Regions from separate parts of the Homo sapiens genome. Here regions 2 and 3 are each linked to region 1. The links are contacts of gene promoters, found by promoter capture Hi-C in blood cells and fetal thymus (Javierre and others, 2016). All regions are on one chromosome and are shown on one strand. The core of a region is centred on a gene start or on the middle of the fragment in contact, and the rest is flanking DNA. Distances in the headings are between cores, read along the strand shown. Region 1 holds the start of SLC25A5 (solute carrier family 25 member 5). Region 2 overlaps UPF3B (UPF3B regulator of nonsense mediated mRNA decay). Region 3 has its middle 3.6 kb from the start of SOWAHD.

What was found. Contacts are between HindIII fragments. The CHiCAGO score rates a contact against its expected background, and 5 or more counts as called.
Region 2: a fragment that was not itself captured here is called in contact with the fragment with the promoter of SLC25A5 in region 1 in 1 of 17 cell types (neutrophils); the score reaches 5.6 in neutrophils.
Region 3: a contact is called between a fragment that was not itself captured here and the fragment with the promoter of SLC25A5 in region 1, in 1 of 17 cell types (fetal thymus). The highest score is 5.4, in fetal thymus.

Annotation. Positions count from the first base shown.
Region 1 is chrX:119,466,109-119,469,693 of GRCh38, reverse strand. It overlaps SLC25A5 (solute carrier family 25 member 5), which reads right to left and starts at 1,250. Exons shown (of 4, transcript NM_001152.5): 1 at 1,068-1,250; 2 at 1-33. The coding sequence starts at 1,178. It overlaps SLC25A5-AS1 (SLC25A5 antisense RNA 1), which reads left to right and starts at 574. Exons shown (of 1, transcript NR_028443.1): 1 at 574-3,585. RefSeq lists silencers at 461-700, 1,191-1,570. The HindIII fragment of the contact is 10,795 bases long and covers 1-3,585 here.
Region 2 is chrX:119,846,411-119,849,995 of GRCh38, reverse strand. All of the region lies in intron 3 of UPF3B (UPF3B regulator of nonsense mediated mRNA decay), which reads left to right. Among named protein-coding and RNA genes, the nearest start is that of UPF3B, 4.8 kb to the left of the region's middle. The HindIII fragment of the contact is 6,337 bases long and covers 1-3,585 here.
Region 3 is chrX:119,760,356-119,763,940 of GRCh38, reverse strand. No RefSeq gene overlaps it. Among named protein-coding and RNA genes, the nearest start is that of SOWAHD, 3.6 kb to the right of the region's middle. RefSeq lists enhancers at 3,343-3,412, 3,423-3,492. The HindIII fragment of the contact is 4,283 bases long and covers 1-3,585 here.

The DNA.
Region 1 (3,585 bases), core at 1-2,500:
ATCTGCAGTGATCTGCTTGCTGGCATGCTGCACCTAACAGACAGGAAGGAAGCCAACAGGGACAGTTATAACCATGGGGAAGGGAAAGAGAAGAGCTTATGCCATCTCGATCAATGCCCTTTAAGGTAGGCTCCCCTCTCTCAAATCTAGTCTTCGTATATCATACTGGCTGGACCCTCCCAACCCTCTGAGGCTGTCACAGGGGAAGAGGTGATCTGCACCAGTAGCATTAAGCCTCCACCCCTCTGAGTGGAGAGGGGGCATCCTCCAGCGGACCCGTGACCTTCAGACCTAGGAGAAAGGTCATTACCTCAAACCCAGGTTCAGAGGCATTAGGGCGAGTCCCACATAGGGCGCGGTCACCTTGGGGACCGCAGCCTACGCCTCAAGTCTCCTGAGCTGCTTCCGTCTCGCTCCGCCCCCACTCCGCTCCCAGAGGTGACCCGAGCGCCGCCGCCGCCAGCCCTACACGCTAGCCCAGGAGCGCCCTCTAGAGCCGGCACTGGAGAGCGCGCGGCGCAGGGAGGCAGGCGGAGACGCGGCGGCAGCGGCCGCGGCTGCGCGGGGGCGGACGTAAAAGGCACACGCGCTTCCCGGCGCCGGCTTCCGGCCCGGCGAGGTTTGAGCGCGTCCGCGGGCTGGGAGGCCGCTGGACCCGGGCGCATGGCCTCCCCCGGGCAGTTATCTCCTTGCCGCGACCTTGAGGTCTTCGGTAAGAACTGGCGTTCCTCTTTCTAACGCCGGCTTTCGGCCTTCGCCCTTGACGCCCAGGCCCGGGGAGGCCGTCACTCAGAAACTGCTCCATCCGAGTCCGCCGCCTCGGAGATGCCGAGAGCCTGGTCCTGCCCTCTGCCCCCGGCCCCTTCCTAGACTCACTACTTCAGGTCACTAAAGGCGCCTCCCACCAGTTTGACTTCTGTTCTGCCTCTGCGCCCCGCTCTGGCCTCTCCTAAGCCGCTTCCCTGGCCATGTCTTTAGAGTTCGCTCCCCGCCACCCCTCGGGCGCCCGCCTTCTGTGCGACCCTTCCCCCCACTTCCTGGTTGGGCTCCTGGATCCCAGGACGTACCTGCAGCAGCAGCTTGACCCGCTCGATGGGCGCTACCGCCGTCTTGGAGATGGCTGCGGCCACTCCACCTGCCAGGAAGTCCTTGGCGAAGGACACAGCGGCATCTGTCATGTTGAAAGAGGAGGCAGACTGCTGCAGGACGGGACTGGGCCGGGAACCGGCTTTGACTCCGGCGCTGCGGGGCGGAGCGAAGCAAATGGCCGATTTATATAGGGGGAGCCGGAGCTGGAGCGGCAGGCGTCGGAGGCGGGGCCGGGGCGGGGTCTGGGCCCCGGCGCGCTGGGCGGCAGAGCCGCTGAGTGGCCCAGCTCGCAGGAGGAGGAGTCGTGGAGGGCGGGCCGGGACTGCTCTCCGCGCCGCCCGTGCTCGCCCTCGGCACCTGACCCGGCGAGAGGAAGGGGCGGGTCCAGAGAACACCCGGGACTTGAACGCTGGACCCTGAGAGAGGCCTCGGAGAGGGGAGGAAGGGTGAGGTCACGATGTGCCTGGACAAAAACCCTTGGAGCAGGACCAGGACTAGGGTGAGACGCATTTGCTACAGGGATGCCAAAAGAACCCTTCAGTCATCGAGATAAACAGTAGTCAATGCGATACTTTAAAAAAGTCGTATGGGCAAACTACATCCTACTGGCCGGCCCCCTTGTTTTGTAAATAAAGTTTAATTGGAGTGTCAAGGCTGGGTTTAGGGTGAGGCAAGCGAGACAAGGTCATGCAAGTGCAGGTTGGGATCCTGTCTGTATTTCAAATGTTGATCATTTGTTCATCATGGATTTTTGCATTGCTTCTGATTTTTTTAAAATAGTACATGAAAAATCATTTGTCTTAATTACTGAGTTGTTTTTCACCAAGGTGAATGCCTCACTCTTCCCACTCTAGACCGTGTGCTGTCCTGGAGCCAGTGAAACCAGACGAAATTAAGGGAACAGCAGACGAAGGAACTGCCACCGTGCCCCAGACCCTGGTTTGCAAATACAGTTCGACAAAGATCTTGCCAGGAATTGGCCTGGGAGAGTCCAAAGGACTGGGCTGGGGGTGGGGAAATGATTTTAGCCAGAAGACAAATATAGAGGTTGTACCCAGAAGGTTAAGAGGCTTAGGAAGGTTAAGAACTACGTTAACATTTGGCTCCCAGGACCCCAGGTAAAGTGCCCTTGGATTGAATAGATTTCTGAACTCCAGAAACATTTAGAGGAATCAATAGAATTAGATTGGCAGCCATTGTGCCAATGGACAAGTGCTTACTGAGCCCCTTAATCCCTTCACTGGGTAAGCATTTGCCACACATGTCCTCAAAAACCTACTTGTTAGCTTAAGTGGACTCCCTCAAGTTCAGAACAGGAGCAAATAGTGTAATCACAAGTTCCGTGTCTGAATAATCATAACAATGTTTATAAAAATAAGGACGACTGTTGAAAACTGCAACTGCAGCTGAACCTTATGTGCCCAGACTTCAGAATTCCCATAGGCAAAATGCCAGCAGGCCTTTGCACACTGAACACATAGTGTTCATATCCTTCACTTTCCTTTCCTGCCCTCTCCTATCTTCTCCAGATCTGCCTGTGAAAGGACCCAATTCTAGGACCCCCCAGGATGGTTAGGCCCTTCCTCTGAAAGTACACTTTGCAATTTGTTAGTCTCCTCAAGAACCCCAGCGATCGAAACTGATGCACACAAATTGCATGTGTTCAAAGGAGCAATTTTGAATCTAGCTTTGTTGATCCTGGGAGAAATCTTTGACCTGTGTTAGTGAAAGGCTATGGTGTTTCTCAGCTGATTATAATAGCGAGGTAGCTGAATGCAAAAAAACAGTTTCAGAGAATGGTAGAGTATATCCTCCAAAGGTGATACTCGCTTCTCTATTCTGGTGAGAGAAACAAGAGCTAAAGCAAAATTCTACAGAGGGCTTTATTTGGAGAGAGGTGGATTTTATTTATAATGCATTTAAAATTCAAAATCTTTCTAGTTTGAACTCTTGACATTCTGATTAATGCATTTTTATTCAACTGTTAATTATTCCTCGATACACCTCGCCATCACTTGTGTATCCCTTTTCTACATGTGACCTTTCCCTGGCCACATCTGCTACTCTCTTTGAGCATGATGCCTCTACTGTATTCTATTCCAGAGCTCATTGTTTTGTCAGTTTTTTTTCTCTCCACAAAAAAAGATGATCAAATAATTACATAGAATTTTTCCCTTCTCAGTCTTTGGGTAACTAAGTGTGGTTTTATTGACGATGAAATACAAGATGGGTCATTTAAAAGCAACTTCTTGTCATCACTTGGTATTTTGCTAAATCCACGGTGAGCTGGAGCTCCCGTAGTCACCTATCACCGCGTGTATTTTAAGGAGTCAGATATTCTCGAAACTGTTAAGATCATGAAAGACAAAGAGACTAAGGAACTGTCACAGATTAAAGGAGACTAAAGATACTTGACAACTGAATGTAATATATGACACTCAACCGGCTCCTGTACCAGAAAAAGGACATTGGTTATATTGGTGAGGTTTGAATATC
Region 2 (3,585 bases), core at 527-3,026, 380 kb before region 1:
TTAAAGAGACTATCCTTTCCTCATTGTGTTTTTTGTTTGTTTGTTTGTTTTGTTTTGTTTTTAAATCTTAGAGACAAGGTCTGCTTATGTTGCCCAGGCTGGATTTTATTGTTTTTTTTTAATATCTTGTTCACCTAGCCTTAAACAGTCACACTTTATGTCCTCATCACTTAATGCCTAGACAACCACTGTCTCTAAACTTACAGGATTTTCCATTTTTTTCATTCTTGTATAATTCAGTCTATTATATTGCCATGAAATTAATCTTTTTGAAAATAATGATTTAAATTAACAGTTGGGGGAAAAAGTCCAAACTCCTTAGCCTGGTAGTCAGGGTCCTCCATATTCTGGCCTCACTTCTGTTTCTTCAGCCTGTCTTCCACAATTTCCCTCTGTTTCAGTCTGGTTTATCTATTCCTTCTCAAATATATCACAGTTTTGTTTTTTGGTTTTTATTTTTGTTTTTTTTCTTTTTCTTCTCTCTCTCTCTCTTTTTTTTTTTGAGACAGAGTCTTAACTCTGTCGCCCAGGCTGGAGTACAGTGGCACAATCTTGGCTCATTACAACCTCCGCCTCCTGGGTTCAAGCAATTCTCGTTCCTCAGCCTGCCGACTTAGCTGGGATTACAGGTGTGTGCCGCCACGCCCAGCTAATTTTTGTAATTTTAGGAGATGGGGTTTCACCATGTTGGCCAGGCTGGTCTCAAACTCCTGGCCTCAAGCAATCCACCCGCCTCAGCCTCCCAAAGTGCTGGGATTACAGGCGTGAGCCACCATGCCTGGCCTAATATATCACAGTTTTGAAGCTAATCTGATTCTCTACTCACTGGGATTCCCAACATAATTTTTCCTCCATGACTGCTTTGCAGTGCCTTCTGGTCAATTCTGTTTATTTTTATTTTTCTGCTTATGTCTACATGCCAATGATTTAAGGATAGGATACCTTGTTTTTGACATTCTGTGACAGGGTGCTTGTGAATTTTTTTCCCATTAGTCACTTGGGGTTTTTGTATTGAAATATAACTCACCTATAATAAAATTCATCCTCTTAAAGCGTACAATTCAGTGGTTTCTGGTATATTCACAAGGTAGTACAACCATCAGTACTAATTCCAGAATGTTTTCATCCCTCCAAAAAGAAACCCATATCTATTAGTAGTTACCTCCCATTCTCTCCCTCCAGCCCCTGGCAACCACTAATCTACTTTATGTATCTATGATTTCCCTCCATTTCATATAAATGTAATCATACAATATGTGGTCTTTTCTGACTGGCTTCTTTTACCTAGCACAATGTTTTCAAGGTCCATCCATGTTGTAACATATAACATATATCATTACCTCATTCCTTTTGCATTTTTAAAAATTGTAAAAATACACGTAACATAAAATTTACCATCTTAACCATTTTAAGTGTACAGTTCAGTAGCATTAAGGTATATTCACACTGTTGTGCAACAATCTTGGGAACTTTTTCATCTTGAAAAACTGAAACTCTTTACCCATTAAACAACTCCTTATTTCCCTTCCTCCAGCCCCTGGCAACCACCATTATACCTTGTGTCTGTATGAGTTTCACTACTGTAGGTACCACATATAGGTGGAAACATACAGTGTCTGTCTGGCTTATTTCATTTAGCATAATATCTTCAAGGTGTATCCATGTCGTAGCATGTGTCAGAATTTTCATCTTTTTTTTTTTTTTTTTTTTTTTTGAGATGGAGTCTCACTTTGTTGCCCAGGCTGGAATGCAGTGGCGCGATCTCAGCTCACTGCAACCTCCGCTTCCTGGGTTCAAGCAATTCTCCAGCCTCAGCCTCCCAAGTAGCTGGGATTACAGGTACCCACCACCACAGCTGGCTAATTTTTTTGTACTTTTGGTAAAGATGGGGTTTCACTGTGTTGGCCAGGCTAGTTTCAAACTCCTGACCTGAAGTGACATGCCTGCCTCAGCCTCCCAAAATGCTAGGAATTACAGGCATGAGCCACTGCCCCCAGCCTCATTTTTAAGACTAATATTCCAGTATATGTATATACCACATTTTGTGTATCCATTCATCTGTCAAGGGGTATTCGAGTTGCTTCCACTCTTGGCTATTGTGAACAATATTGTTATGAACACAGATGTGCACATATTCGAGTCCTTGTTCTCACTGCTTTTGGATATATACCGAGAAATGGAATTTCTGGAGTCATTTGGTAATTCTATTTTTATTTTATTATTTATTTATTTTGAGACAGAGTCTCTGTCACACAGGCTGGAGTGCAGTGGCATGATCTTGGCTCACTGCAACCTCCACCTCCCAGGTGCAAGCAATTCTCCTGCCTCAGCCTCCCAAGTATCTGGGATTACAGACACCTGCCACCACACCCTGCTAATTTTTTATGTTTGTGGTAGAGACGGAGTTTCACCATGTTGGCCAGGCTGGTCTCAAACTCCTGACCTCAAGTGATGCGCCCACCTCGGCCTCTCAAAGTGCTGAGGTTACAGGTGTGAGCCACTGTGCCCCGCCGGTAGTTCTTTTTTGTTTTGTTTTGTTTTTTTGAGATGGAATTTCGCCCTCATTGCCCAGGCTGGAGTAAGTACAATGGCGCGATCTTCCCTCATTGCAACCTCCACCTCCTGGGTTCAAGCAATTCTCCTGCCTCAGCCTCCTGAGTAGCTGGGATTACAGGTGCCCACCACCACACCCAGCTAATTTTTGTATTTTTAGTAGAGATGGGGTTTTACCATGTTAGTCAGGCTGGCCCAATAATTCTATTTTTAATGTTTTATGGAACTGCCATACTGTTTTCCATGCAGCTGCATCATTTTACATTCCCACCAATACATGAGTGTTCCAGTTTCTCCACATCTTTGCCAACACTTGTTATTTTCTGCTTTTTGATAGTAGTCCTCCTAATAGGCGTGAGATGATACCTCATTGTGGTTTTGATTTGCATTTCCCTAATGACTAGTAATGTGGAACATATTTCCATATGCTTGTTAGCCATTTGTATATTATCTTTGAAGAAATGTCTATTCAAGTCTTTTGACCATTTTTTAAATTGGGTTATTTGGTTTTTTGTTGTTGAGTTATAGGAGTTCTTTATATATTCTCGATATTACCCCTTATCAGATAATATAATTTGCAAATATTTCTCCCATTCCATGGGTTGCCTTTTCACTCTGTTGATTGTGTCTTTTGATGCATAGAAGTTTCTAATTTTGACGTAGTCCAATTTATCTATTTTTTACTTTTTTTAAATAAGAGATATACTTTATATTTTTGTTTTATTGTGGTAAGAACACTTAACATGAGATCTACCCTCTGTATTTTTACTTTTGTTGCCTGTGCTTTTGGTGTCCTGGTGTATTTTTTTTTAAGTGTTAACAGATTTTTCCCCAGCTTTATTGAGCTATAATTGACAAATAAAATAATATATATTTAAATTTTACTATGTAATAATTGTTTTTTCTTTTTTCTTTTTCTTTTTTTTTTTTTTTTTTTACCAGGCTCGAGTGCAGTGGCACAATCTCAGCTTACTGCAACCTCCGCCTCCCAGGTTCAAGTGATTCTCCTGCCTCAGTCTCCCAAGTAGCTGG
Region 3 (3,585 bases), core at 620-3,119, 290 kb before region 1:
CTGAAAGCATTGCTTAGAAGTGTTTTGCTTTTGCGATGCATTTGCCGCCAGTTTTCTCCCCTGGCACATTCATCCTCCAGGTGACTGCTAGAGTGATCTTCCAAAATCTCATCATGCTACTCCTCTGCTTATAAACCCTCCATGATTCCCAACTACCTTTTGGCTAAACTTCATGAACCTCTTTTAGGTGATCTGGACCCCCTTCCACTTCTCCAGCCTTGCCATTAACCACTCCCCAGCTTCCACCCTCCTGCCAAACCCTCTGCCTTTATAGTGCATGGTACTTGCCACACTCAACGGTCAACTCCCACTCACCCCTCGAGCCTCAGATCAGGCACCACCTTCCTCCCCAAAAGCCTTTTCTATTCCTCTTGACCTGGATCCGGCCCTGCCTCCTGCGCTCCCTCAGCACCCCCTCCCCCTGATCCATCACAGCCCTGCTTCTGTCTCCTCTTCTTGCTCGGCTCCCCTGCTAGAATGAAGTCTTGCATCATCTGCTTAACTCCACTTTGCTCCCCTGGAAAGAGGTTTCTCGGGGAATTTGCTCTTTCTCTTGGGGTAAGCATACCAGTCTTGCCTCAAAAAGCATACCAGAAATGCCAACGGCTTGATGTGAGGCACGGAGAGTTTTCAGCATGGGAGTTTGTCCCCTGCAGCCAAACCTCAATTTTACATGGAGGAGATAGGCTAGGCAGTATCACATGATGAGAAAAATCTGTGGGGAAGAGTAGCTGACTACAGGAAAACTACAGAAAACCGTTTTCAAATCTTCCAGGTAATTTGGTTTTCGTTTTGGAAAGAGTAGGGTGAACGCTTGTCTCAGGCCCCCAGATCTGCTAACAGTTAAGATGCTTAGGTTCAAACTTTTCCTATAAAGAGGGGACTACTGTTATAAGTGTCCTTTGAATGCTCAGCACACACCAATCTTCCCTGCAAGCCAGGAGCCTGCAGACTCAGCCAAGTGGCAAGAAGGCCCTGCCCTGACAGCCTTCACCAAGCCCAACCCACCTTGGCAGCTATCAAGGGGGAGGTTGTGGAACAGAAACCACAGTCCTGCATCAGTTGGCCTGTTCGCATCTATAAAATGGGCACGGGGTGGAGAGAGTTAATGCCAGATGCCAATGCCAACTGCCAGAATCTAGGAACTGTTAGCCCTCCCTCCTTCAATTACTAAAGAAAAGAAGTTCATTTAGAAAAGACAAAGGAAGGCCAGGCACGGTGGCTCATGCCTGTAATCCCAGCACTTTAGGAGGCCAAGGTGGGCGGATCACCTGAGGTCAGGAGTTCGAGACCAGCCTGGCCAACATGGTGAAACCCCATCTCTACCAAAAATACAAAAATTAGCTGGGCGTGGTGGTGGGTGCCTGTAATCCCAGCTACTCAGGAGGCTGAGGCAGGGAGAATCACTTGAACCCTGGAAGCGGAGGTTGCAGTGAGCTGAGATCACACCATTGCACTCCAGCCTGGGCAACAGAGCAAGACTCCATCTAAAAAAAAAGAAAGAAAGAAAGAAAGAAAGAAAAGACAAAGGAAATGCTCTATTACACTGTGTAAGTGTGTTTAAGGTGTAGCTCCTGGAGACATGGGACAGGCTGAAAACAGCAAGGGGGTTTGGATCATTTCATGATTGAGAAGACCCTCATGGGTTACTAAAGGAAGGCAGTGTGGGCCAGGCACAGAGTCTTATATCTGTAATTCCAGCACTTTGGGAGGCTGAGGTGGGAGGATGACTTGAACCCAGGAGTTCGAGACCAGCTTAAGCAACATAGCGAGACCCTGTCTGTACAGACACACACACAAAAAAAATAGCTGAGCATGGCAACATGTGCCTGTAGTCCCAGCTACTTGGGAGGCTGAGGCAGGAGGTTCACCAGAGCCCAGGTGTTTGAGGCTGCAATGAGCTATGATCGTTGCCACGGTACTCCAGACTGGGTAAGAGTGAGACGCCATCTCAAAAATAAAAAATAAAGGAAAGTAGGAAAGTTTTGAGCACAGAAGCAAACAGGCCCACCAGGCAGAGATGGAAACCTGGATGGATGGGCTCAGGGTGGCGTTTCTGGGCTGTTTGTTAGTGGTGACTGTTTCTGGCTGGTGTTCACGGACTGGGATGAGAGGGCTGGGGAACGCGACAGTCCATTGCAAGGGCTACCCAAGCCTTCAGGGATACAGTGCTATTTTTAAAATGCACTGTTCTCCAAGGCAGCATGGGTCTGTAGCCAGCAACTGCTTTCCTGGCCTTTCAGGCTCAGTCAACCCTCCTGTAGTCTATTTAATTCATGCCATTTCTGAATGGGAGCAATTTTGCAAGCTACAATTTATGCATTAAACTTAACTTTTTAAAAAGAATTTTACGTAAGTGAAATATATATATTTATTGAGATAGGGTCCCACTCTGTCACCCAGGCTGGAGTGCAGTGGAATGCTTTACTCACTGCAGCCTCCACCTCCCAGGCTCAAGCAATCCTCCCACCTCAGCTTCTCTAGTAGCTGGGACTACAGGCCTGCACCACTACAACTGGCTAATTTTTGTATATTTTTGTAGAGACAGGGTCTCCCTATATTGCCCAGGCTGGTCTAGAACTCCTGGGCCCAAGGGATCCTCCTGCCTCAACCTCCCAAAGTGCTGGGATTACAGCTGTGAGCCACCACACCCAGCCTTAAACTTAATTTTTTAAATGCTGCTGAGCAGGTGTGGTGGCTCGTGTCTGTAATCCCAGCACTTTGGGAGGCTGAGGCAGGGGAACACTTGAGGTTAGGAGTTCGAGACCAGCCTGACCAACATGGCGAAACCCCATCATTACTACAAATACAAAAATTAGCCAGGCGTGGTGGTGCACGTCTGTAATCCCAGCTACTTGGGAGGCTGAGGTAGGAGAATCGCTTGAACCCAGGAGGCAGAGGTTGCAGTGAGCCTAGATCACGCCATTGCACTCCAGCCTGGGCGACAGAGTGAGACTCTGTCTCAAAAAACAGTAATAATAAATAAATGCTGCTGGCTGGGCGTGGTGGCTCATGCCTGTAATCCCAGCACTTTGGGAGGCTGAGGCAGGCGGATCACTAGGTCAGGAGTTCGAGACCAGCCCAGCCAACATAGTGAAACCCCGTCTCTACTAAAAATACCAAAAAAAAAAAAAAAAAAAAAAAATCAGCCGGGCGTGGTGGCGGGTGCCTGTAGCTATTTGGGAGGCTGAGGCAGGAGAATTGCTTGAACCCGGGAGGCAGAGGTTGCGATGAGTCAAGATTGCGCCACTGCACTCCAGTCTGGGTGACAGAGTGAGACTCCATTTCAAAAATAAATAAATAAATGCTACTGAGGAAAGCCCCATCTTGGAAAAAAAAAAGTGCCCGTGGGTGTGTCTCATTAGAGGCCACAAATCAAGGTAAATTACATGACTGACCGTGGAAATATCAGAAATGTAAATTTGGAAACTTTTGCCTTTTACCCCCAACCCAAGGCCCCTATATGACAACTCTTCTAGGATGAGGCTGGTGCCTGAGGCCAGACCATCAAAGAGCTCAGGACAGAGGTGAACTGTATGTTTCTCCTCAGATCCAAGTGGAAGTAGCTTCTTCTGTGCACAGCTC